Linked DNA regions of Homo sapiens: region 1 is linked to region 2. The links are contacts of gene promoters, found by promoter capture Hi-C in blood cells and fetal thymus (Javierre and others, 2016). All regions are on one chromosome and are shown on one strand. The core of a region is centred on a gene start or on the middle of the fragment in contact, and the rest is flanking DNA. Distances in the headings are between cores, read along the strand shown. Region 1 overlaps ABHD2 (abhydrolase domain containing 2, acylglycerol lipase). Region 2 holds the start of AEN (apoptosis enhancing nuclease).

Region 1 (3,408 bases), core at 447-2,946, 510 kb before region 2:
GGTTCCACTGGAACCCTGGATCCGTTAGAGAACTGGTCCTGCAAACAGCCAGTCAAAGATTAGTGACCTAACTTTAGGAGAAGGCACCACTATTCCCAGACCTGGGCTGCCAAGGTGCTAAGTGCAAAGTTCCCAGACTCACTCTGTGCTAACCAAACAGGATGTACGCTGACGCTCAGAACACAGAGCACCCGTGTCTTGTCCCCATCTGCCTAGTCACCTCTCTCCTGAGGACATGCACATAGATGCCAATGGTCTGCTCTTTGTCCAACACAGTGCCTTTTGGCTACTTCCCAGGCCAAGGCTACCTCAAAATCTGTGCCAGCGTTATGGGGAGGGAAGATTAGAGCTGGAAAATCACATTATATTTGCCACTATTCCTAGTGGAGGAAAACTCAAATACCTAAATGTGAAGCCCCTGGATTACCTACACAGAATGCTCTTTTAAGAACACGCTAATCAACTAGGAGCTGCGCTGGCTGGAGAGCAATGTTATAGAGCGGAGAGAGTGAGGAGGCTGCACCTGGCTCCCGATATCACAGCCATTGCAGTACAATGAGCTCCATAGAGATAGCACTGGGGCAAGTGAGAGCCAGATGGGCACTGGGCAATTCTGTGCCTTGCTGAGGAAAAATAACTAAACATGGGCAAAGGAGACCCTAAGAAGCCAAGAGAGAAAATGCCATCATATGCATTTTTTGTGCAAACTTGTAGGGAGGCACATAAGAACAAACATCCAGATGCTTCAGTCAACTCCTCAGAGTTTTCTAAGAAGTGCTCAGAGAGGTGGAAGACCATGCCTACTAAACAGAAAGGAAAATTCGAAGATATGGCAAAGGCAGACAGGGCCCATACGAAAGAGAAACGAAAACCTGTATCTTTCCTAAAGGGGAGACAAAAAAGACGTTCAGGCTGGGTGTGGTGGCTCACGCCTGTAATCTCAGCACTTTGGGAGGCTGAGGCGGGTAGATCACCTAAGGTCAGGAGTTCGAGGCCAGCCTGGCCAAGACAGTGAAAGCCCGTCTCTACTGAAAAAAAAAAAAAAATTGCCAGGCATGGTGGCGGGCGTCTGTAATCCCAGCTACTCGGGAGGCTGAGGCAAAAGAATCGCTTGAACCTGGGAGGCAGAGGTTGCAGTGAGCTGAGATTGCGCCATTGCACTCCAGCCTGGGCAACAAAAGGGAAACTCCATCTCAAAAGAAAAAAAAAAAAGTTAAAGGATCCCAGTGCACCCAAGAGGCCTCCTTCGGCCTTCTTCCTGTTCTGTTCTGTCCTGTTCTGTTCTGTTCTGAGTATCGCCCAAATATCAAAGGAGAACATCTGGCCTGTCCACTAATGATGTTGCAAAGAAACTGGGAGAGATGTGGAATAACATTGCTGCAGATGACAGGCAGCCTTATAAAAAGAAGGCTGCGAAGCTGAAGGAAAAGTAAGAAAAGGATATTGCTGCATATCGGGCTAAAGGAAAGCCTGCTGCAGCAAAAAAAGGGAGTTGTCAAGGCTGAAAAAAGCAAGAAAAAGAAGGAAGAGGAGGAAGATGAGGAAGATGAAGAGGATAAGAATGAGGAGGAGGAAGATGAAGATGATGATGAATAAGTTGGTTCTAGTGTAGTTTTTTTTCTCGTCTATAAAGCATTTAACCTGTACATAACTCACTCCTTTTAAAGAAAAAAACTGAAATGTAAGGCTGTGTAAGATTTGTTTTTAAACTGTACAATGTCTTTTTTTTTTTGTATAGTTAACACACTACCAAATGTGTCTTTAGATATCCCTGTCCTGGTGGTATTTTCAATAGCCACCAACCTTGCCTAGTACAGTATGGGGATTGTAAACTGGCATGGAAATTAAAAGCAGGTTCTTGTTAGTGCATGGCACAAATTAGTTATATATGGGGATGGTAGTTTTTTCATCTTCAGTTGTCTCTGATGCAGCTTATATAAAATGACTGTTGTTAAGTGAATACCACTCTGTAATTGCAAAAAAAAAAAAAAAAAAGAAAAAGTTGTAGCCATTTTGTTGACATTCTGAATGCTTCTAAGCAAATACAATTTTTTATTAAAAATAAATAAAGAAAGAACACACCAATCAAGAGATGACTTTAAGGATTAAAATGCTGACATTTGACATCAGCATTTGTACTACATCTTGCCTTTCTTTGATGTGCAGAAAACAACTCATAAAATGGCAAGCAATGATGTTAGGAAAAAGTAGGTTCTACAAATATTTAATGAAAATTATGTTTCTTTTGTCAGTAATTATATAGATCATTACTAATAAGCCATACTCAAAACTTGACCCCATTCTTGCTCCCAGGGAGTTCACAATCAAGAAAAGGAGATAAGAAAACTTTATAATGCTCTTTCGGGCTCAAAGACTTGAATAAATGAACTTGCACTGGAAAACTTGGCATCACAAACATGTCAATTTTCCCTAAATTACCTATAAACTTAAGAGATACACAATAAAAATAATAAGATTTTTATATGTGGAATTAAACAAGCATTCTAAAGTTCATTTGGAAAAATGAACCAGCTATAATAGCCAAGAAAAGTATGAAAACAAGCAGTGCTGGGGTATGAGCATCGCCCCACTGCCCACAGCAAAACATAGTACAAAGCTGCAATCTGCTGATGGTATATGTTCAGGACCATCAACAGAACACAAAAGACTGGAAATATGCCTAAATACATCCAGGAAATTTAGTTGGTGAAAAAGGTGGCATTTGAATAATGGGGTAAAGATGGATTGTTTAATAGTGTTGGACAAAGTGTAGCCGTCTTGAAAAAAATTATGTTGGAGCCACACCTCACACCAGGATAAATTCTGGAAGGATGAAACATTTCAAAATAAAAATGAAATCATTCATATGCTAGAAGAAATTCTAGGCTTTTAAAAATAATCTTGCAGTGAAGAAGACCTTTCTAAGGAAACCAGAAATCCCAGAAGCCACAAAAGAAACAATTGAAAAATTTAATTATGCAAACATTAAAAAAAATTATGCGGCCGGGCGCCGTGGCTCACGCCTGTAATCCCAGCACTCTGGGAGGCTGAGGCGGGAGGATCACGAGGTCAGGAGATCGAGGCCATCCTGGCTAACATGGTGAAACCCCGTCTCTACTAAAAATACAAAAAAAATTAGCCGGTCGTGGTGGCAGGCACCCGTAGTCCCAGCTACTCAGGAGGCTGAGGCAGGAGAATGGTGTGAACCCAGGAGGCGGAGCTTGCAGTGAGCCGAGATCACGCCACTGCACTCTAGCCTGGGTGACAGAGCGAGACTCTGTCTCAAAAAAAAAAAAAAAAAAAATTATGCATGGCAAATACCACTATGGGCAAAGTCAAAAGACAAATGACAAACTGAGAACAAATATTTGCAATTCATATCACAAAGGGCTAATTTCCCTAGTACAT
Region 2 (3,016 bases), core at 282-2,781:
CCCCTCATATTGTTCTGTATTATTTTATACTCAGTACCTGTTTTAAGAAGAAACAAGGAAGCAAAACCAAAGGCAGGCAGCCCGGCGCCACGCACCAGACCCAAAACCAGACCCAAAACCAGGCCTGGGCCTGCCTGACCTTAGCCTGATAGTTAAAATTAAACCCATGACCTAGCAACCGATGTTATCCATAGATTTCAGACATTGTATAGAAGGACACTGTGAAATCTCTTGTTCTGTTCTGTTCTGTTTCACTCTGACTACCGGTGCATGCAGTCCCTGTCACATACCCCCTAGATTGCTCAATCAATCATGGCCCTTTCTTGTAAAATCTTTAGTGTTGTGAGTCCTTAAAAGGGACAGAAACTGTGCACTCAACAAGCTCGGATTTTGAGATGCTAGTCTGCCGATGCTTCCAGCTGATTAAAAGCCAATTCCTTCACTACCTCTGTGGGGTTTTGTCCGCGGCTCCTCCTGCTACATGCTGACACGTCAAAACCAACAGTCATCAAGGACACACCTCTTTGGGGACCCAAATGTAGCTCAGTGAAGCTGGAGAGAAGTTCCGCTCAGATAAAACAACCCTTTCAACAAGGACAAACACAAGCCTTTCTCTAGCCTGGACCCAGCGCTCTGGGGGTCAGACACCCGGCCTTCAGGCAGGGAGGGGGTCTGGCCTAAAGAAAGGGTCCCAGCTGCAGAGTCAATGGAGCAAAGGCCCCAAAGGAACCAAGAAGTCAGAATCCTCGGTGGCATGAGAGCCACCAACCTGCTGGCTGATCAAGAGGGCAGAGGGCAGTTCTAGACCCTCCTCTGGCACTAAGTAGCTAGATGATCTGGGGCAAGTCACGTCTCTTCACCATCAACCGAGGGCTGTGAATTAGATAAGGGCTTCCCAAATGTAGTTAATTACCATATGACATCTGATGAAAGGCTGATTTTCAGGCCCACTCCCACACCGTCCTAATTGCTATTTTGGGGAAAGGGGCCTGAGAATCTAGATTTTTAAAAAGAGCGCGGACGACCCCTACCCTCAAGCCACAATTCTGATAATCGCCCAAACCTGAAAAAACCTGGCTCGATAAGGTCCCCTGTGCTGCTAAAAAGTCCACGGAACAACGACAACAACTAAAGTCTGCTATCCTGGCACGACCTCCCCGCCGGCTGGCGTTCTCCCAGGCGTGACGCGTGGGAGGCCTGATCTCACCGGGAAGGACTCGGGCGTTGGTCACTTGCTGGCCGCGGCAGCTGGGCCGAGTCCCAACGACCAGCGCCGCCCCCTCTGGCCCTGGACCCCCGAGCAGAGCGAGGGCTGGAGACAGGCGGCGCCCGGCCTGCTTTTCTGCGGGCCGGTAGGGCAGGGTCAGCCCAGTTCAGGCGTCCCCGCCGCAGGCCGGGGCGGAAACAACGCGCGGGGACCTGCGACCCGGGACACGCGGCCTCAGCCCGCCCGACCCCGCCGCCCCGGTGCAGGGTCCTGGATCTCACCTGAAGCCCCGCGTGTCTCTTCCGGTCTGCACGTGGCGTCCGGAAAGCCGGCAGCTCCCACATGCCCGGGCAAGCCCGGCTCCGACTGCCCGCCTATTGGCTCGCTGGACGGCAGCGCCCGCCCAAGACCTCTTCTGATTGGTCGAGCCTGCCTGGCAGCGGGGAGGCGGGCGAGAGCAGAAGGGGAGGGACTCCTGAAGAGGGCGTAACTCGTGCTGCGAGCCGGCCATACTGGCGGGAAATTTTAAAGAGAAGGGAAGGGAGACTGACCTCCTGTCGTCCCTGCCCGGTCCCATCAGTGTTCCCCGGCTCCAATCCACTCCTCTACCTGGGTCGGGATGTGGGCTCCTGTAAGCCTGGTACCACCAAAGGCCGAATGACTTACTGAGTACACCCACATCTGCAGATTGGGAACATCGGCCCTTACCTCCTCGGGTGTTCTGGGATTCAAGGAAATAATATACACAGTAGGCACTAAAGAGAGACTTTGAAAGTCAGGTTTCCTCCGTCAGCGCTGCTTTTTCATTTATTCTTTTGCAACACTTGACTCCTAAGTATTAAGTTCCTACGTGGGCTTGGCAGTGGGATGCACACAATAAACACATAAGCATCCTGAGTTGTTTATCTAACAGCAGGGAAACAGCAAGGTTAACAGAAAATTCAGTGCAACATGAGGCCGGGGCGCGGTGGCTCACGACTGTAATCCCAGCACTTTGGGAGGCCGAGGCAGGTGATCACCTGAAGTCAGGAGTTTGAGACCAGCCTGACCAACATGAAACCCCATCTCTCCAAAAATACAAAAATTAGCCGGGCGTTGACGGGAGCCTGTAATCCCAGCTACTCGGGAGGCTGAGGCAGGAGAATCGCTTGAGCCCAGAAGGCGGAGGTTGCAGTGAGCCGAGATCGCGCCATTGCACTCCATCCAGCCTGGGCACCAAGAGCAAAACTCCGTCTCAAAAAAAAAGAAAGAAAGAAAGAAAGAAAATTCAGTGTAACATGAGTAATAACAAGAACAATAATAAACAGTTCACACGTATTATGTGAGCACGAATGATGTGCCAGGCAAAATACTCAGTTAATTTGTACAATGACCTTACTATTATTTCAGTTTTACAGTTAAGGAAATTGACACTTAAATTAAGGAGAAACACCTAGAATCCAAAGATCCTTACCTAAGCAGTCTGACTTCTCTTAGTTCACATTTTGCAAGCAGAAGTGATTTGGAAACGTACCTGTGATGAGAAATAAGCTAGGAGCTCTTTCTGATGGGAGTACAAATTTGAGGGAAGCAGGACAAGGGATGAGGTCACAAGAGAGATCAATCCTTTTACCCAGGCCCCTGAAGGCTTTGGGGAGGCAGAGGGATTTAAGCCATAGATAGTTTACCAGTGAATCTGCATTTGAAAAAACTTGTTCTGGCTGCAGCATAGAGAGGAATGGATGAGGACTGGAGAAAGGAGTGGGGGAGTGTTTGTGGAAATTTGGAAGATCATGATGTCCAGAGTGGTGTGGAGGATAAAGAGCTCCC

What was found. Contacts are between HindIII fragments. The CHiCAGO score rates a contact against its expected background, and 5 or more counts as called.
Region 1: a fragment that was not itself captured here is called in contact with the fragment with the promoter of AEN in region 2 in 2 of 17 cell types (total B cells and naive B cells); the score reaches 6.2 in total B cells.

The regions. Positions count from the first base shown.
Region 1 is chr15:89,133,731-89,137,138 of GRCh38, reverse strand. All of the region lies in intron 3 of ABHD2 (abhydrolase domain containing 2, acylglycerol lipase), which reads right to left. It also overlaps the pseudogene HMGB1P8. Among named protein-coding and RNA genes, the nearest start is that of ABHD2, 47 kb to the right of the region's middle. The HindIII fragment of the contact is 5,708 bases long and covers 1-3,408 here.
Region 2 is chr15:88,619,855-88,622,870 of GRCh38, reverse strand. AEN (apoptosis enhancing nuclease) reads right to left here and starts at 1,531. Exons shown (of 4, transcript NM_022767.4): 1 at 1,489-1,531. RefSeq lists a silencer at 1,277-1,466 and enhancers at 1,487-1,646, 976-1,649, 1,650-2,323. The HindIII fragment of the contact is 13,176 bases long and covers 1-3,016 here.